Regions from separate parts of the Homo sapiens genome. Here all the other regions are linked to region 1. The links are contacts of gene promoters, found by promoter capture Hi-C in blood cells and fetal thymus (Javierre and others, 2016). All regions are on one chromosome and are shown on one strand. Each heading gives the region's core, a stretch centred on a gene start or on the middle of the fragment in contact. The rest is flanking DNA. Distances are from core to core; before and after follow the strand shown. Region 1 holds the start of CHIC2 (cysteine rich hydrophobic domain 2). Region 2 overlaps SCFD2 (sec1 family domain containing 2). Region 3 overlaps USP46-DT (USP46 divergent transcript).

What was found. The method cuts DNA at HindIII sites, captures the fragments that hold promoters and counts their contacts. A CHiCAGO score of 5 or more calls a contact.
Region 2: a contact is called between a fragment that was not itself captured here and the fragment with the promoter of CHIC2 in region 1, in 1 of 17 cell types (fetal thymus). The highest score is 5.0, in fetal thymus.
Region 3: a contact is called between a fragment that was not itself captured here and the fragment with the promoter of CHIC2 in region 1, in 1 of 17 cell types (naive CD8 T cells). The highest score is 5.3, in naive CD8 T cells.

The regions. Positions count from the first base shown.
Region 1 is chr4:54,063,173-54,066,090 of GRCh38, forward strand. CHIC2 (cysteine rich hydrophobic domain 2) reads right to left here and starts at 1,433. Exons shown (of 6, transcript NM_012110.4): 1 at 1,010-1,433. The coding sequence starts at 1,128. RefSeq lists an enhancer at 841-1,341 and silencers at 1,141-1,270, 1,501-1,740. The HindIII fragment of the contact is 3,181 bases long and covers 257-2,918 here.
Region 2 is chr4:53,002,946-53,006,071 of GRCh38, forward strand. All of the region lies in intron 5 of SCFD2 (sec1 family domain containing 2), which reads right to left. Among named protein-coding and RNA genes, the nearest start is that of SCFD2-AS1, 77 kb to the left of the region's middle. RefSeq lists a silencer at 1,158-1,247. The HindIII fragment of the contact is 4,903 bases long and covers 1-3,126 here.
Region 3 is chr4:52,659,944-52,662,965 of GRCh38, forward strand. USP46-DT (USP46 divergent transcript) reads left to right here. Exons shown (of 2, transcript NR_125363.1): 2 at 949-1,555. Among named protein-coding and RNA genes, the nearest start is that of USP46-DT, 2.0 kb to the left of the region's middle. The HindIII fragment of the contact is 830 bases long and covers 1,228-2,057 here.

The DNA.
Region 1 (2,918 bases), core at 183-2,682:
AGACTATTCCAGACATTCTCAGACTTGCTGGCTCTTTTGTTTCACTGAAAAGGTGAAGAAGTACAGAGATACCTGACAAGTATGGAAGTCTGATCTATTATTTGAACAAGAGATCTAAAATGAGAGAGTATCAATGTAATACATCAAGTGGTACAAAACTGTGGACTTCATAGTGAAACATTACAAAACTTCCTGCTTCCGGACAGCTCATTATTTGGTTCAAGGCTTCACATTCCTTTGTCATGGTCTTTCCGAAAGCTTTCATTCCTTATTAATATCAGACTTTTAATGTTACTAGTGGGACTTTCCAAATTAACAAGCCCCAAGTTCGTGCCCCAAGGAGGAGCTTCAGGACTACAATTTTCCCTCAGTAACCTGAGCAGAGTGTATGTCCCTCACGTAGTTGTTGTTGTTGTTGTTGTAAACATATTTCTTTCTGTATATCTTAAATTTGTGTTCAACTATATATTTTTATCACGTACAATTACAAGAACTTGCATTAGTTCTGCGGAAATTAGTGGAAAAACTGGGAGACCTGTGGGTATGTGTGAAATAGACACGAAACGGAGCTTCGCTGCCAATTGTCACTGGGGTCTCACACGGCCCAGATCTGGCCTCTGAGCCATGTCACTGGGTGCAAAGGCACAGACAACCACAGGGTAACTGGGCGAGAAAACAAGGAGGCTCCCTGTCAATACACGTACTTCCACCCTGAAGAGGAAGGGTGGCCCGCAGGGCAGACCCTAATGAAAACCCGTGCCTACTGGGATCGTCACATCGCCCGGGCCTGTAGGGCCTGCTAAAGGGGTGTGTGGAGGAGGAAGGACAGCGTCCGTCCCCACTTCGGAGACCCAAACAAATGAAAATAAGCCAAGTTCTCACTTCCTGGTTGCCTACTCTTTCGGAAGGCCCCCGACACCAGACGGACACAGGGGAAACGGGGCTCCCGTGGAGTAACGGGGCCCACCCCAGCCCGCACCTCCCGCCCTCGCCCTCCTCCGGGCCTTACACGGTGACGTGACCGGAGCCGCGGACGACCACCGGGTCCGGCGAGTACTTGAGCAGCTGCTCCTCCAGGGCCCGCTCCTCGTCCTCCTCTTCCTCATAGATTTCGTCGAAATCCGCCATCCTGAGCCTCCGAGCTCCCCTGCCCAAAGGGCCTGACTCCCGGGGTTGGCGCCGGGGTACCGGCGGGCGAGGCGGCGGAGGCTGAGGGGAGTCGCCGCTGCCGCCGGCTCCGAGGCCGCGGAGTTCGCTGTCGGCTGTCTCGGCTCCGGCTACAGAGGGGATGGGGTCTGGACCGTCGCCGCCACCGCCGCCGCCATTACCATCAGCAATAACAACAACACAATGTCAACATCCGCCCAGAGGCCGACACCTCCACAAGCACAGACGCCGCTGCCGCCGCCGCAGCAGCAGCAACTCAGGAAACCACAGCAACAGCCCGAGCCACCCGCAGCGGGAGCAGCCGGCTACGGCATCGCGAGACTTCCCGGGCCAACGGGCGGGCGGGCGCGTGCGTGGGCGCGTGGGCGAGCGGACTGGCTGGCGGGCGGGCGGGCGCGCGCACGTGCGGCCTCGCGCGCTCCCAGGCCACCGTCTTTCCTCTGCTTCTACCCGCAGACGGCGACCGGGGCGCGCGCTCCCGCCGGCGGGCCCCCCTCCGCCGACTTCTGGGTGGCGGACCCTGGGGGCGGCGGCTCCGCTGACTGGAGGCCGCGACCCGCGACTCCGACAACGCAGCTTGGAATGTCCAGTGGGACATGCAGTTCCCCAAAGTCATCTCTAACCAAAACAAACAACTGAAAAGAAAAGCCCTGGCTGGAATAGACACATTTTTGTGCGTGTCATTGCCAGTTTATCTAATAATCGCATCTCGCTTTTCCTCAGGTTTTGAGTCTATGATGAGAACCAGAGTCTCTTTTTTCCCAATTTGAGGAGTCCAGCAGAGACACTGCAAACATTTGTGCTCACCACAGGATTTTTCAAGACATCTCCAAATTCAAACATCTTATCCCTTGATCCCCTTAAGTATAATCCAATATATGAGGCCAGCGATGCTGGTATTTTTTTTTTTTTCTTACAAGAAATCTCACCGTAGTCATGCTATGAAAAAAAACTGATAAATTACCTGGATTCCATATTAGAAGATGCAGTTTCTTGCCCCAACTCTCTCACCAAACATAACCTGGTTTTTGTTGTTGTTTCCTTAAAATCTTAGGGAATTCCTTTCCTTTTCTTACCAGTTCCTACCACAAAAAAGACCTGAAAGAAAGGGCAGAGGAGAGGAAGAAAAGGAGGCAGGAAGGAAGAAAGGATAGAAGGAAGGACGAGAAGAATGAAAGAAGAATGGGAGAGAAAGAAAGAAGGGGAGGAAGGAAGGAAAAGGTTTAATGGAGTCTACTTAGCTGCCTAGTAACAGTTGAACGGTCACTTTGGGTACTTGGTTTCATTAAGCATATAAACAGCACAGGGGAAGGAGTGGGCTTCTGAGAAGAGAGTCCTGGACAGTGAGGATACACCATGGGAGAAGAAAGGATAGTTCTACTGAGCCCAGCGCTGGTCAGGCTCTTCAAGTGCAGTGTTCATGTCACAGTAGTCGGCTTTAGATGGGTCACTGTTGACGTGGAGAAAGTGCAAAGGAGGTCAATGAGGACAGTGAGAGATGCCAACCTCCTTTTGGAAACAACTGAAGGAAATGAGTGTGGTTAGCCAAGAAAAAATGAAGGAAAAATACAGTAGTTGTATCAGACTTATTGTATCCCTCCCTGGAGGGTATTTGTTCATTCAACAAATATCTACTGAACTCTAGCTATGTGGCAGGCACTGTGGACGTGTGTGAATGAGGCACAGGCCCTGACTTCTGGTAGCTTATCTATTGTTAAGGCAAGCAATTGTCATCTCTGCCAGGGGCTCAT
Region 2 (3,126 bases), core at 12-2,511, 1.1 Mb before region 1:
AGAGAGGTGGGAGGTGCTACACACTTTTAAATAACCAGATCTCATGACAATTCACTCGCTCACTATCAGCAGAACAGCACTGAGGGGATGGTGCTAACCCATTCACAAGAACTCTGCCCCCATGATCCAGTCCCCTCCCATTGGGCCCCACCACCAACACGGGATTACAATTCAACATGAGGTTTGGGTGGGGACACAGATCCAAACCAGATCACCCATCTCTCTCTTTTCCCTCTCTCCCTTCCTTTCGTCCTTCTTTTCTTTCTTTCATTCATGCCATATGGCAGGCACTGTTCTTGGCCCTGGGAGTAGAGTGATAAACAAAAGACACGGATCTCTGTCCTCATCAGACTTACGTTTTAGAGCTGTGCTGTTCAATACAGTAATCAGTAGCCACATGTAGCTATTTACATGTACATATGAAGTAATAAAATTACACATTTGGTTCCTCTGTTGCACTAGCCACATTTCAAGTGCTCAATAGCCATCTATGGGTAGCAGCTATCATACTGGGTAATGCAGATATAGGACATTTCCATCCTCACAGAATGTTCTACGAGATACCACTGTCTTCAAGTTTTATTTGCAGTTAGATTTTTAGAATCTACCACTGTGCCTGGCACATAGAAAGCAGTATTAAACTGTCATTAAATGTTAGAGTAGAGTGATAAGGACAACAATAAAGTTGTGTCCCTGTACAGAAATTGCACAGAGGGAGAAGAACTTAATGGGATGGGGTCAAGGAATATCTCCCAGAGGAGACAGAAACAGGTGATAGGATTTGAACTATGATAAGTTATGATGTACATTTGGTCAATGAAGGCAGCTTGCTACAACTCTAAGGAGGACAGTAGAAAAGGATTCCTTTCAAAGTTAAATCACAACCTTCATGATAGCACTGGTCAGATGCTTCTTGGATGGGTAGGCTGAAATGTAGGGGAAGACGAAAAGGGCACAATAACAGTTTTCAAACCCCTGAGGAATTCTCATTAGGAGGATGTAAACAAAAAGCATGCCCTCCTTATTTTAGGAAATAAACAGTTTGCAATAAATGTCTGAAATAGTCCTGGTTCTTAAGTATTACTATGCTCTTCAAAATGAATGCTCTGTGAGGCCTTCCTTTTAATCAGCAAATATGCTAGTCAGAGCCTTCTATAAAAAGAAGCAGTACTTAGGTGTCCATTCCTTAGCCACAAAAGGAAACTGAATAAGAACATGCACACGATATGTGGTCAGTGATGGAGACCTCTGAGGCCTGATTCAGAATAGCTGTAGTCTAGAGCTGCCCAATCCAGTGGGTATCTCAGCTACAGGAAAACCAGAAGATTGGAGAGCATGGAAAGGAACGTAAATGTGGGCCACACGGAGGACATGGTAGGTCAACTTCAATTACCCATGTCTGCTTACCAGAGAAATAGAAAGGTAATTATCTTGCATAAAGGTGATCTGGTGGCTGGCCAGACACCCACTGCCATTGTAATCAGAATAAGTCCCATAGCTAACATTCAGATAGCCCTTACACATGCCCGGCATTTACTACATTTAATTCCTACAATGACCCTACAAGATAGGTACTATTATGATTCCTTTTGACAGAGGAAGGAACTAAGGCACGTAGATGTTAAGTAGCTTGCCCAAGGTCACACAGCTAAGTAGTAAGTGGTAGAGTTAGAATTTGAAAGCATTGATTATGTGCCAAGTGTGGCTGGGGACAGATGGGCCAATGGAGGTTAGGTGGTGAGAGGGTTCAACACTTGCAAATACGGTCGGAGGCATTCTAGAAACTTCCTGTGGTGAATCCCCACCCTGACACCCTGAAGACAGATGGTGCACCACTGGAAGTAAGGAAGACAGTCAGGGAAACTGCTTATGGTTGGGGGTATTTTTAGGGGTAAAGTATCCATTCCCCCAGCACCCATGAAACCTCACTGCTCTCAGGACAGACAGAAATTTCTATTCTTTATTTTAAGACAGAGTCTCGCTCTGTCGCTCAGGCTGAAGTGACACCAGTGGCGTGATCTTGGCTCACTTCCACCTCTGCCTCCTGGGTTTAGTAATTCTCCTGCCTCAGCCTCCCCAGTAGCTGGGACTACAGGCATGTGCCACCACATCCGGATAATTTTTGTATTTTTAGTAGAGACGGGGTTTCACTATGTTAGCCAGGCTGGTCTCGAACTCCTGACCTCAAGTGATCCACTCGTCTTTGGCCCCCTCAAAGTGTTGGGATTACAGGTGTGAGCCACTGTGCCCGGCCAGGATTTCTACTCTTAACTTTGGTCATGACTCCACTCCCCAAGTCCATGAGACCAAGGTAATAGATGTTGGAGAGAGCTGCTAATTCTGTACTTTTCCATAAAGTTGCAAGGAGAGTAAACAGCAGTAACCCACCACTGCTGATCTCTGCTGATAGGAAAGCCCCTGGCTTGCCTCCCGGAGGTCAGGCATTTGACCCTGCTCAGCAAAGAACAAGAGCCCCAAGTTCTGGCCAATTCTGCACCCTCAACCACTTCCACTTTTTCATAAGGAGAAGTTTGTGAGGTTTCCCTCTCCTCATACATTAAATTAAAGAGACAGCTGTAAGCACTATAAGATCTTCATGTTCCTTCATCGATAAGTAAGGCTGATTATTCCATTAAAACAGACTCCTGTTTTGGGAAAGATGATTCATTTTCTTAAATTTGCATCTATTTCCTGAAGTCCTTTGGCCCCTTAAAGAAGGGTCAAGCTATAATAAGATGGAACAATAAAACATTCAATCAGAGAGACACAAAGAGTATTACATTTAAAAAAAGGATTATATGCTCTTATCCTGACTGAAGCATGCTTCATAGTTGTGCTTTAGAATAACATCTAGATTCTACTGAAACCTTCTACCTTGAGTGTGCATTCACAAAAGTAAAGCCGACATTCACCAACAGGGTTTTCTGCCACATACTTCATTGTACTAACTGGAGAACTTGCCCTTTAATAAGCCCTACTGAGTGTTATGCACTCCACTCCACACTCCAGGAGAAAAGAGGAAGGAGGGGGACCCAGCACTGTGTGTGTTCCTGGCCAAACCTCTCCCTCCCCGACTCCTGACGCTCCTTCAACCCTCACTGCCTCATGACTGCAATCTGCTTTGGG
Region 3 (3,022 bases), core at 393-2,892, 1.4 Mb before region 1:
CGCCCGAGAAAGGGCGCCGGGAAGGGGGAGGAATCCGGGTCTGGGCGGAGGCCAGCAGCGGCGCGCTCGGGCGGCTTGTGACATTAGCGGGTCCAAAGGAGACGTCCCGGTTCCGCGCAAGCACTAGGGACTGTCCAAGGAGTGGAAAGAACGAAAACAAAACTTTTCCATATCTTCAAGGCAGGCATACCCCTCTCGGGTGCACCCAGCCTCTAGTTGTTGAGATGGGCGCTGTATGGGATCATGCACATTTCCCGCATTAAAGGTCGTGGCTGCGGGCTCAGAGCGCGAGTCTGTGCACCACTTAGCAGATAGGTCCACGCGAATTGAAGGGGCCCGTTTCTGAATGTGTGGAACAGTTACACATACAAGGTTGCAATTCGATGCTTTCAAAGGAGAAATTGTACAAGTGAGATGCGTGATAAATTCTTAGATCAGTGTATTTAATGACAAATTGAATCAGAAGAAAAATTAGTTGAAGATAGCTTTTATCTAACCAAGAGTAAAGATTTGAGAGCCGTTGATTGCTAATATCCCTAGAATCTGGGGAGGAAACAGTAAGACAGACTTGTTGACTGAAGGTTTTGGGAGTCATGTCACTGTGTTTTCCAGTGGACATGAGAAATAATATTCCTGCTTAAGTCTTTCAACCTAAATATTATTTCCAAATACATCCTGATGATAATTTCTTCCATTGTAAGTCATGACTGATTTTCTTCTCTCTCTCTCTGTTTTTTAAGAGACAGGTTCTCGCTATGTTGCCCAGCCTGAGGCTGGGCAGCCCCGAGTCATCCCAAACTCCTGGGCTCCAGCAATCATCCCACCTTGGCCTCCCAAAGCGCTGGGACAACAGGCGTGAACCACTGCACCCAATGTTTACATTCCTGATCTCCTTTAATCGCCACCATAACTATCAGCTGGTACATGCTATTATCTCCTTTTTTGCAGATCAGTCACATAAGGCTTAGAGGATCAAGGATCCTGCCCAGATGACTTACCGAAATGTTACAGATTAAGTTGGTGTGGTAACCTGGGCTGAGCACTCTGGGAGAGGAAGAGAAGAGAGAAGACAGGAAACAACTGAACTATGACCAATCCCAGCACGGAGGCCCAGAAAACTTTAAGATTTGAGTATTAATGTCTCAAGGTCAGGAGCAACCTCAAGGCTAAAACTCAGATCTCAGGACTCAATTTCACAGAAGTTCCACTATAAAGGCAATAATCTAAAGCTTTAAATGATATGAAAATTTTGTAATAAGAGTTCAGTATTTCTGCCAACATTGGCGCATGGATTGCAAAGTTCACAGGATTGAAAACACCATCGACATAATGGAAATTGAACAGCATCTGATTACTGAGTGCTATATCAGCAAGTTAAAAGGATCTTTTGCATACCTTTTAATGGTATATATCCTAAAACTGAAGTGTTCAATATAGACATCCAGATTGAAACTCAGGCAGTGAATTACATACACAACAAATCAGTTGAACATGGCAGAGCTTGTCAGACTTATGAAAGATTAAATACATTTTACATTTCCACAAGTGTGGTATTCACAGGTCTAAATTGGAAAATTCTTGGGTTGAAGAAGAATAATCATAATCTTAGCTTCACTCATTGAGGAAACATTATTCAGGGATGATAAGAGGTAAAATCTTAAAAATATTGACAAGCTAATGAGAGAACTTTGAGGTAAGCTGATATGCAGGTATAGTTAGGACTGGGAAAAGCAAGAAAATGGAAGGATGGGTTAGAGGGTGGCACTACACGGCTGATATAGTTTGGATATCTGTCCCCATCCAAATCTCATGTTAAATTGGAATCCCCAATTCTGGAGGCAGAGCTAGAAGGCAGAGCCTGGTGGAAGGTGTTTGCAACATGAGGAAGGATCCCTCATGGCTTGGTGCTGTCTTAACAATAATGAGTGAGTTCTCCCGAGATCTAGTCATTTAAAAGGGTGTGGCACCTCCCCCCCCCCCCGCCCCCGCCAACTCTCTCTTGCTCCTACTCTGCCATATGAATGTTTGTTCCCCCTTTGCCTTCAGCCATGATTAGAAGCTTCATTAGGACTCCTCAGAAGTAGATGTTGGTGCCATACTTCCTGTATAGCCTGTAGTACCATGAACCTCTTCGCTTTATAAATTACCTGGTCTTGGGGATTTCTTTATAGCAATGCAAGAATGACCTAATACAGAAAACTGGTACTGAGAAGTGAGTCATTGCTGTAGAGATACCTGAAAATGTGGAAGCAGCTTTGGAACTTGGTGACAGGCAGAAGTTGGAAGAGTTTGTAGGGCTCAGAAGAAGACAGAAAGATGAGGGAAAGTTTGGAATTTCTTAGGGACTGGTTAAATGGTTGTGACCAAAATGCTGATAGCTAGGACATGAACAGAATGCACCCAAGCACTTTGCTAAGGCAAAACATGCGTGACCTTTGCTCTAGTTCCCAATAATTTCCTTATTTCCATTCGAGACCTCAGAAGCCTGGACTTCAAACCAAAATGCTGATAGTGATGTGAACAGTGAAGTCCAGGCTGCTGAGGCCTCAGATGGAAATTAGGAACTTACTGGGAACTAGAGCAAAGGTCACACAATGTTAACGCCTTAGCAAAGAGCTTAGCTGCCTTCTGTTCATGCCCTAGGAATCTGTGGAAGTTTGAACTTGAGAGTGATGATTTAGGGTATCTGGCAGAAGAAATGTCTAAGCAGCAAAGTGATCAAGAAGTGGTGTGGCTGCTTCTAGCCACTTATATTCAGATGTGGGAGCAAAGACAAAAGGTAGAACTTATATTTAAAAGGGAAGCAGAGCAAAAAAAGTTTGGAAAATTTGCAGCCTGGCCATGTGGCAGAGAAAGAAAAAAGCTTTTTCAGTAGAGGAATTCAAGCAGACTGTGGAACAATTACTTGCTAGAGATGTTTGCAGGATTAAAGGGGAGCCAAGTGCTACTATCCAAGACAATAGGGAAAAAGCCTTGAAAGCATTTCAAAGAACTTCAGAGTGGCTTCTCCCATCACAGGCCC